Linked DNA regions of Homo sapiens: region 1 is linked to region 2. The links are contacts of gene promoters, found by promoter capture Hi-C in human tissues and cell types (Jung and others, 2019). All regions are on one chromosome and are shown on one strand. Each heading gives the region's core, a stretch centred on a gene start or on the middle of the fragment in contact. The rest is flanking DNA. Distances are from core to core; before and after follow the strand shown. Region 1 has its middle 11 kb from the start of OR1J1. Region 2 holds the start of OR1N2 (olfactory receptor family 1 subfamily N member 2).

Region 1 (5,503 bases), core at 1-2,500, 63 kb after region 2:
CCATTCCCACCTTTTATTTGCATTGCTCCTAGTCATGTCACCGAAATCCTCATTATTACTAAATCCAATGAATGGTTTCAGCACTTAACCTTGGCTCTACATTTTTATATTCTCCTTCTCCATCTCTGGTTGTTATTTGATGTCTTTTGGGGGCTTTATTTCTCTGCTACTATCTTAATTGTCAATGTTCCCTGTGGTCTGTCCTCAGCAACTATTCCCTTCCCTTTCCTTGCTTTTCTCCCTTCTCCTTTCCTCTTCTCTCCTCCCTTTCTCTCCCCTCCTTCTTCTTTTTCCTCAGCTTTTACTAACCTCATTTGTTTTCAGGCAATCTCATCCTCCTCTATGTTGACAGTCCATGAATTTCTATCTCTATCCAAAATATATCCACCTGCCTACTAAATTTGTCTCATGGATGACCTATAGGTACCTCATACTCTATGCAATACAACTTCTCAAATCTTTTTCTTCTATATTGCCTTCAGTGAATAGCACAACCATACACTCAGCTGTCCAAGCCATAAATTTAGAGAGGTTTTCAACTCCTTTGTTCTCCTTATTTTCTACATTCTTATCAAAATCAACTCACATCAAAATTACTATATCCATTAGATTCTGACTACGGAGACTTAAATCAATATAGTTCTAACATCATGGTCACTCTCTTATACACACTTTCATAATCTCTTACCTAAATGACTGTCATCTTCTCCTAATGAGTCTCTTTGCTTCTGGTCTTGCATTCCACTACCCCATGCCTGCTCTGCCAACATGTCCTCTGCCCACTGCAAACACATGCTCATTATCCACTCCTGAACTATACCAACTGTGTTTAGTATGATTGTCAATCTGCTGATCAAGTCCTTCCATGGCTCTTTCTTTCCTTTTGAGTAATATGCAAATTCTTCAATATGGCTTCTAAGGTCCTGCATGATTTATTCCTTCTAGTTTCTCTGGACTCATCCTGAACCTCTTCCCCTGTTCAAGTGTACATTTTAGCCACTCTAATTTTTCTGACAATTGTTTCCTAAATTTGCCATCCTTTCTCTTCTGTAGGTCTTTTCCTATTCCTCTGTTTCTCTCCCTTTCACTGCTCTGCCTCTATGTTGTTGACATCACCTTCTACTTGTTTTGATTTTCTTGAGTTTCTGCTTACTTGTAACTTTCTACAAGCCTACTTGCTGTTCTGTGTGGGAAACGCATGAGGGGAGAAGAAAAGACACACACAAAATACCTTTAAGGGTAAACAAGCTTTATCCCACGTAAATGGCAATGCAGATATAACAAGCCAATGATATAATAAGCAAATTGATATAATAAGCAAGTTGCAATGGGAAGGGGATAAAGGAAAAGAGATATATATATATTTACACTCACCACCCCACATTGGATGGGGAGATGCATTTGGGGATGGCCATTAATTCCATTCACCATCTGGGATAATATTCCCTCCCCAGTAATCTAGATGCTTACAAACATCACTGGTTATGAATGTGCCAGACTCCCTGATGATGGTACCCTATCACAGTATTCTCCCCTGCCACCAGTACAATCCTGCTTCAGCAACAAATTAAAATATTAAGCTTACATGTAGAAAAAGCTCTTAATGATAGTAGCACTGGACTTATGTTATCAGATGAATTTGCTCAGCCGTGCACTGTTGTGTTGCAAAATCGAGAGGCATTAGATATGCTTACCACAGCCCAAGGAGGGGTTTGTGCCTTACTGCATACTAAATGTTATGTGTCTATCCCTGACAATTCTCACAATATTACTCTCCTTGCAAAGCTATCGTAGGTGTGGTTTTTATTAATTGCGTTTTTAATTCTCCTGTGCTTACCATGTATCTGTAATCTATCAACTGTGCCTTCCCCATGTATCTGTAAGGGTATTTTCCTACAACTGAGTATCAAATTGAGGCCCAATGTGGAGAAAAAGTTAAATATTAAATTTGAACTCAATTGAACGTGGACACAAACAATGGTCACCAAGTCCGGGAACAGGTTGTGTGAGCCCCTTGAGGCATTCATCCAGCACTGTTTCGGAGAAATCTCTATTTCAATCTATTCCTATACATTGGTTATTGAAAAACAATAGATAATTGCAAAAACAAGTTGATCTTTTTGTGTTCCTTGAGCCCAGTCGCAAAGGGCCCTCGTCACTGGGCCTCATGCAAAACAACTTCTTACAAAAAGAGCTAGGGTCCCAGACCCTAGCACCGAAGCTTCATGAAACCTCTCCTTGTCTGTGCACGGACAAGTGGCCGACTCTGGAGCCCAGGCTGTTTCTTCCCAGTCTGGTGGTGAATCCTCCACAGTCTGGTGAGTTTTGTATCTGACTCTGGAACCCAGGCTGTTGCTTTCCAGTCTGGTGGTGAATCCTCCGTAGTCTGGCGAGTGTAAATATATATATATATATTTATATATGGAATAAAGGAATGGTGTGTGTGTCTTTTCTTCTCCCCTCATAAGTTTCCCACACAGAACACTTGCTTGATGCCTTTAATTTGGGTTTGATGCCCCCCTTTGTGTTCCCACAGCACTCGGCTCTTACCTTCATTACAGTGTCTGATGTGGACGGTTTTGTCGATCTCATTCAATGGATTGGGAACTCTTTGGGGACAGAAAATTGTGTTTTCCCATGGACACAGAGATGGGAACATCACACACCAGGGCCTGTCAATGGGTGGGGGGGTTAGGGGAGGGATAGCATTAAGAGAAATACCTAATGTAGACGATGGGTAATGGGTGCAGCAAACCACCATGACATGTGTATACCTATATAACAAACCTGCACATTCTGCACATGTACCCCAGAACTTAGAGTATAATAAATTTTAAAAAAAGAAACTTGTGTTTTCTTTACTTACAGTGCCTCACAAAATTCTTGCCACATCATATTTATACAATATTCTTCTGAATGAGTAAATGAATGCACAAATTATTCAAAGAAATAATGAAAAAAGCAATCTCCTCCACTTAATTCTCCGTCTCTTTTATATTTTTGCCAACCTGAATGTAGCAGGTTTCTGAAGATTCTCACACTCATTTTTATGGTCAAAGAATACTTTTTGAGCCCTGAGTCTGTTCCAACTATTATTATGTGTCATCACTAACCAAAAATAAATCCTGCATGTATTCAGGTGTTTCCCATGAGGAAAATAAATCTCTAGTCCTTGAAAAGTGTTCTTAATCCTCAGGGACTAGTAACACCTCTCCTTCCAGTTCCAAATTGAATGTGGGAAGGAGGAAGTCTGTATAGGCCAGGAGCGGTGGCTCACGCCTATAATCCAGGCACTCTGGGAGGCTGAGGCGGGCAGATCACCTGAGCTCAGGAGTTTGAGACCACCCTGGGCAACATGGCAAAACCCCATTTCTACTAAAAATACAAAAAATTAGCTGGACGTGGTGGCACACACCTGTAATTCCAGTTACTTGGGAGGCTGAGGCATGAGAATCACTTGAACCCAGGAGGCAGAGGTTGCAGTGAGCTGAGATCATGCCACTGCACTCCAGCCTGGGCAACAGAACTGTCTCAAAACAAAAATAAAACAAAAACAAAACAAACAAACAAAAAACCCAAAAGAATTATTTAAAATATAGAGCTCACTAATATAAGGGAGGCAACATGGAAGAAAGCCTAGAATGAAACCAGGCTTTAGGTTTGAAGTTAATGTGTTTATGTTTGAATACTCATTTAACCATTTACTTTTGAGACATTGTCAAACTCAATAAATGGGAAAAATACTATCTACATCAAATATTATTGTGATGCTTAAAAAATCTTATAGATGTGAAAGTTCTTTATAAATAAAAAAAATCTGTACATAATAAAAGTTCTTATTTATATTCCCATAGGAGTTGACTGTCCTTGGTGTCCGGCAAAGGCACATTTCAACTGGGAATATTAAGGGAAATACAGTAATTAGCCCCTAACTGTGTCTCACCACAGACTTCTGGCACCAGTCCCCTGGGTTCCCATCCAGGCAGGTAAAGGGAGATACTCTTGCTGTAGCCTTGTGGCTGGTGAAAAACAAAGAATGTGCCTCTTCTCCACTTCAGGGTTGAGCTCATGACTTTTCTCACTGTTCCAGCTCTAAGACTTTTGGAGAGAAAATGAATGATTGGTTCATACCAAGGAGCTGACAATATTTGAATTTATCACTGAACTAGGTAAGACCAATGCTTACAGACTCCATTAAGCAGTTTGTGTGTGTGTGTGTGTGTGTGTGTGTGTGTGTTAATCATCTCCTCCAAAATCTTGCAGATGAGTACACATGTGCCAGGTGGTTTATATAATTTTTGTATTACATCAAATAATTTAGGGTGGACATCATTATTATTATTCTCTGGTGTTTGTACTTTCCTCTTTAGGAAAATGTTCTCTCACAGTTTTGCTGAATATCTGGCCTGCATCCCAGCTATGAGCACATTCTTCAAGGTTTAAAAAATAATAATAATCTGCATTTTTATAAATAGTTATAAACATACCTACATGCAATTTCCTATTATGTCCTTTAAAAATTATATCATAAGCTTTTAATGAATTTATTTTATTGACTACATATTCTTTTCAATAATGTGTACCATAGTTGCCTTAACCTTTCCCTTACTGATGGAATATAGGTATCAACAACAACACTGGCCAGGGTCTTATTTGTTTTTTTCCTGGGACCCCGAGAAATTTACTTTCTGGGAAGCTGCCTTCGTAAATCCAGTAACTGATTTCCTGGTTTCTCTATTCTCTTCTGATCATCTGATTAAAGACTGAAGCAATACATCTATGCAAAGGCTTTTAAGAAATTACAGATTCCACCTCTTTAATGACAGGTGCATATCCAGATGTCTTTTCCATCAATGCTCTGCTGGAGGCAATACGACATGATGATTAGCAGCATGAGTTTGAAATCAGACAAACACAGGATTGAATGACCTCCCCATCATTTTCATGATGTAGAATTTTAGGCAAATTATTTATACTCTGTAAACCCTACTTTCCAATTGGTTAGATGAGAATAATGCCATTTTGTGATCCTGTTAGGCTGATATGATATAAATTGCATCACAGCAGCTGGCCTATATTATTATTCACACAATAAATATGTGATTAATGAATGATTGCTATTCTAATTTTTATTATCAGTATTACTGACATCACCATCATGGCACAAATCTTGAAACTATAGATTTTTATTCATCCTTAAACTCTCCAATTTACTTCATGAAATTCTTGAGTGCTCTCAGGCAGCAAATATTGTCCTATTTGAAGATATATTTAATAAGGGCTTTTAATAGAGTGGGAAGAATATAGTCTTTGAAGCCAGATGGACCTGCTATCAATTCCCAGGCTCACAATATACTAGTGCTATAATACTGGGCAAGTTTCATCACTGAATCCCAGTGTTCTCCTCTCCAAAGTGAGGATCAGAATGCCTACATTGGCTGGGCACAGCGGTTCATGCCTGTAATCCCAGCACTTTGGGAGGCCAAGGTGGGTGGATCACTTG
Region 2 (5,439 bases), core at 310-2,809:
GTGGTAAAATAGAAAGGGAGTCGATAGGCATAAATTGACTTGTTAAGTTATTTAGCATCCTAATTCACAGTTTTCACAATTCTACCTAAAGTAACTGATGTAAGGAATAATGAGGAACATTGTGGATAGTCAATAAATGTTTCTATTCTCCTTCCTTCACCTCATCCCATGCCTGCCTTGCTGGGGTAGAATTGCTCAGCTCCAGAGCCTCATAACAAATGCCTTGTTCACTATGGCTAATATGCTGGTTTTAGAGATGTGAGGAGGAATAGTAGTTTTGCTGTTAGTAATGGTTGCCTCACTGGGGTCAGGAAAGAGGCTGAGACAGAACATCTCATTCCACAGCCTAATAAAAGAATGAAACACTCTTTTTTTTTTTTTTACATCCCTAACTCAGAGTCAACGGATAACCTTCCCCTAATATCAACATGACAGTAGTAGAATTACTGAAGTGATGGAAGACAGGGAGGGGTTGATCAAGATTAGACATCACCGTCTAGATGTCTAATCATAAAAAGAATGTTTTTCCACTGACAAAAAGTTTACCCAAAGCCTCCTTCATGTCTCTGTTCCTCAAGCTATAAATGAATGGGTTTAGCGTGGGAATAATCACCATATAGAGAACAGCAGCCCTACTTTCCCTCTCTGTAGAGTAAGTTGATGGAGGAAGTAAATACACACCCATAAGAGACCCATAGAAGAGCAGAACCACCGTGAGATGAGAACCACAGGTAGAGAAGGCCTTCCATCTCCCTCCAGGAGATGAGATGACAAACACAGCCCAGAAAATGCGGACATAGGAGAAGACGATCAGCAGGAGGGGAACAGTGAGGAACAGCAAGCCCATGGTGATGATCATCAGCTCGTTTACATGGGTATCTGAGCAGGCAAGCTTCAGGAGAGCACTAGGATCACAATAGAAATGAGGGATGGCTTTCTGGGCACAGAAAGCCACGCGGGTCAGCAACAGTGTGTGCATCAGGGCAGGACAGTTGGTTAGCACCCAGCACACACCCAGCATTAGTGCACAGAGCTGGGGACTCATAGATGTGCTGTAATGGAGTGGTTGGCAGATGGCCACATAGCGGTCATATGCCATCACAGCCAGCAGGCAGTTGTCAAGGCCACCAAACATAAGGAGGAAATATAGCTGTGCAAGACACCCAGAATACGAGATGATCTGACTCTGGGTATGAATGTTGGCCAGCATTTTGGGGATGGAGGCAGAAGTGAAACAGGCATCAGTTAATGACAGGTTGGCCAGAAAGAAGTACATGGGAGTATGGAGGTGTGGGTCAGAGCTGATGGCCAGGATAATGAGCAGGTTCCCCACCATGGTGACCAGGTACATGCCAAGGAAGATGCCAAACAGAAGAGGCTGCTCCTCTGGCCACTCAGAGAGTCCTAGAAGGAGGAAGTCTGAAACAGTGGTTTGGTTCACTCTGCCTGGTTTTCCCATCCCTTGTAGTTCGTGTGATCTGCGCAGATAAAAACCTTCCATGTGTCAGTATTTATTTATTAGATCAATTTACAGATATGCATCTGTGTGGCCAGAACTGTGCTGGGAGAAAAAGAAAAGAAAAATAAATGGTCTTTGCCAATAAGAATCTCTGAATCTCACTGGGAATGCAAGGAAATACCCAAGAGACATTTAGAGAACAGTTAAGATAATATCCATTCAAATCTCAATTGTGCTTTGTATGCTATAGCAGAATCCAAAGAAAAGAGATTTGTTTGACCAGAGAAATTGGCATGGGCTATTTAGAGGAAGTGAGAATTGAGAATAGCTTGATGGCAAGATTAGAAAAGCCATTTGTTATTGTCAATTGGAAAGAAGATGCATGATCTCCATCAAACTCCTACCCCTCCTCCAACACACACACACACACACACACACACACACACACACACACACACACACTCAAGCCCTCTTTGTGGGGGCTGAAATTGACTTTTAAGACAAGATAGCTTCCTCCCCACTTGCCTTTCAGTGCTGAGAATTTGACCTCACCCATTCAAACCAGTCCTGTACTCTTTCCTAACTAGCGGCAAAGGATATGTGAGCTGAGGGCAGTAGGTGTCTGGTGTCGTACTCCCCCATCCACTGTTAGGATGTTCCCTCCCACACACACGCATACAAATAGGACAGGGAGCCACTCTCTCCCTTCCATCACTTCCTCTCCTTTATCCCTGTCCTCTTCCCTTTTTTGCTGCTATGCATCTCTATCTGCTCTGGGAACTGATATTTTAGTTCACCTGTGCCTTCACCCCTACATTTGTACTACATTTATCTAATATTTACTTTTAACCAGAGGGAGGGAAGGTGAAAGGTATCGCCCTGACTTTTTGGTTTGAAAATAACCAGTCTGTTTTTTTGCTGCCCTAGTGAGCTGGTAGGAGAAACCATTTCATATTGATCTTGTAGAAGTTTGGCCTTAGAAGCTTTTGTAACTATTTTAGTCCTCCATTTGTTCTTTGGTTCATAGAGAAGCTTCTGACCTTAGGCAGAGACTCAGCACTTTCCCAGGAAACTTTTGCCTGGTCACCTGATCATCGAACTGGGAAGGAAGGTGTATATGTGTGTGTGTGTGAGAGAGAGAGAGAGAGAGAGAGTGTATGTGTGTGTGTGTGTGTATGTGTCCTACCCCTTCCAAATCCTCACCTGTCAGATTATGGATCAGTTTTAGGCATCTTCAAATTCTCCAATTCTCTTCCTTGGATGGATAATTCATAATAAAAAACTCTGAGACCTTTCTGACTCAGAGGCAATAAAGTCGGGGTCTATTGAGTCCAGAGTTTATTAGAAATACCTGAAGTGTATGGCTCGATTTCAGCTTCCCCGGGCATAAGAAGACAGGAATATCTCTTAAGGTTATAAAGGCTCCTAGAACACCATCTCCCAATGTGCTCGTTAAGGTCGACCTCGGTGTCATTGTGCAGCCTGTTCTCCAGCCAACTCTGGCTGGATCCTAGGGGAGCTGAGGACCTCTCTTTCCCAGGGGTTAAGATCTCAAATGTGGGTCTCGGGAATGTGATTCTGAAGCCTCTTGCTGGCAATGCAGTGTACTTCAGCCTGACTAGCAGGTCACCTGGGAACTCCTGCCTATATGCATTAGGCAAGTCAGCACTTGTCCCATGTCCTAGGTAAAACTGCATTGAAGAAGAAATCAGGAGTATAAACTAAAACACAACTATTTCTGCTGGCGATTTCCTTAAAGAGAATAATCCTGATGGAAACAATACCCTCAAAAACTCCAAAACTCAATTAATGAGGCAACCTAAATAAAGCACACCAGCCATAGTGCCTCATACAAAGCAGCTGCTCAAAAAAAGCTACTTATATCTACTGTATTTTAATTAATTCTATTAAGTGGAGAGAGTGGAATCCCCACCTAGGTCTGTAATGACTCTGGAGTACATGCTATTATCCACTATGCTTTGTTCTAGTATCATTGTTGGTTTCAATCATAAGCAATTTCATAGGTCTAAAATAATCCAACTTTTTGTAGCTATTGTAAATGGGATTGAGGTCTTGATTTGGTTCTCAGCTTGATTGTTATTAGTGTGTAGAAATGCTACTGATTTTTGTACATTAATTTTGCATCATGAAACTTTACTCAATTCATTTATCAAATCTAGGAGTCTTCTGGAGGAATCTTTAAGGTATTCTAGGTATTAGATCATATCATCAGCAAACAAAGATACTTTGACTTCCTTTTTCCAATTTGGATGTCTTTTTTTTTTTTCCCTGATTGTTCTGGTTAAGGACTTCCAGTTAAGACTTCCAGTATCATGTTGAATAGGAGTGATGAAAGTGGTCATCTTCGTCTTTCTCTAGTTCTTAGGGGGAATGCGTTCAGCTTTCCCCCATTCAGTATTATGCTGGCTATGGGTTTGTCACATATGGCTTTTATTATATTTAGGTATATTCCTTCTAGGCCTAGTTTGTTGAGCATTTTTATCATGAAGGGATATGGAATTTTATCAGTTGCTTTTTCTATATCTATTGAGATGATTATAAGGTTTTTATTTTAAATTCTGTTTATGTGGTGAATCACATTTATTGATTTGTATATATTTCACTATCCTTGTATTCCTCAAAAAAAAAACCCACTTGATCATGGTGTATTATCTTTTTGATGTGCTGTTGGATTCAGTTTGCTAGTATTTTATGGAGAATTTTTGCATCTATTGTCACCACAAATATTGGTCTGTAGTTTTCTTTTTTGTGTGTCCTTATCTAGCTTTGATATCCAGGTGATACCTGCTTTGTAGAATGAATTAGGGAGGATTCTTTCCTCATTGATTTTTTGGAAGAGTTTCAGGAAGACTGGTACCAGTTCTTTGTATGTTTGGTGAAATTCAGCTGTGAATTAAACTGATCCTGGGCTTTTTGTTGTTGTTGTTGGGAGATTGTATGATTCAATCTCACTACTCAGTATTGGTTTATTTAGCATTTCTACTTGTTCCTGGCACAATCTTCGGAGATTTTATATTTCAAGAATTTATCCATTTCCTCAAGGTTTTCTCATTTGTGAATTCATAGTTGTTTATAGTAGTCTCTGATGATACCTAGGATTATATGTAACCAAGGAGGTAAAAAATGTCTACAAGAAAAACTACAAAACACTGAAGAAAGAAATTTTAGATGACACGAATAAATGGAAAAACATCCCATGATCATGGATTGGAAGAATCAATATTGTTAAAATTACCATGCTGCCCAAAGCAATCTATAGATTCAATGCAATTCCTATCAAAATACCAACACCATTTTTCATAGAATTAGAAAAAAATCCTAAAATTCATATGGAACCAAAAAAGATCACAAATAGCCAAAGAAATCCTAAGCAAAAAGAACAAAGCTGAAGGCATTACATCACCTGACTTCAAATTATACTAAAAAGTTATAGTAACCAAAACAACATGGTACTAGTATAAAAACAGACACATAGATCAATGGAAAGAATAGAGAACCTGGAAATAAAGCCACATACTTACAGCCAACTGATATTTGACAAAGTTAACAAAAACATACACTGGGGAAAAGACACCCTATTCAACAAACAGTTCTAGGAAAATTGGATTGCTATATGCGGAAAAATGAAACTGGACCCATATTTCTCACCATATACAAAAATTAACTCAAGATGGATTAAAGACTTAACTGTAAGACCTGAAACTATACAAATCCTAGAAGAAAACTGAGGAAAAACTCCCCTAGACATTTGTGTGAGTCCATTTGCATTGCTACAAAGGAAAATCTGAGGGTGGGTAATTTATAAGGAAAAGAGGTTTATTTGGCCCATGGTTCTGCAGGCTGTACACAAAGGATAGTGCCAGCATCTGCTTCTGGTGAGGCCTCAAGAAGCTTCCAATCATGGTGGAAGGTGAAGGGGAGCCAGCATATCATATGGCAAGAGAGGTAACAAGAGGGAT

What was found. The method cuts DNA at HindIII sites, captures the fragments that hold promoters and counts their contacts. A contact is called where the count stands out against the background at its distance.
Region 1: a fragment that was not itself captured here is called in contact with the fragment with the promoter of OR1N2 in region 2 in 8 of the 25 tissues and cell types used here (H1 embryonic stem cells, dorsolateral prefrontal cortex, heart left ventricle and 5 more).

The regions. Positions count from the first base shown.
Region 1 is chr9:122,486,193-122,491,695 of GRCh38, reverse strand. It overlaps a transcript of OR1J2 not described here. Among named protein-coding and RNA genes, the nearest start is that of OR1J1, 11 kb to the right of the region's middle. The HindIII fragment of the contact is 4,254 bases long and covers 1-3,377 here.
Region 2 is chr9:122,549,232-122,554,670 of GRCh38, reverse strand. OR1N2 (olfactory receptor family 1 subfamily N member 2) reads right to left here and starts at 1,559. Exons shown (of 1, transcript NM_001004457.2): 1 at 457-1,559. The coding sequence starts at 1,459. The coding sequence ends at 509. It also overlaps a transcript of OR1J2 not described here and a transcript of OR1L8 not described here. The HindIII fragment of the contact is 3,656 bases long and covers 276-3,931 here.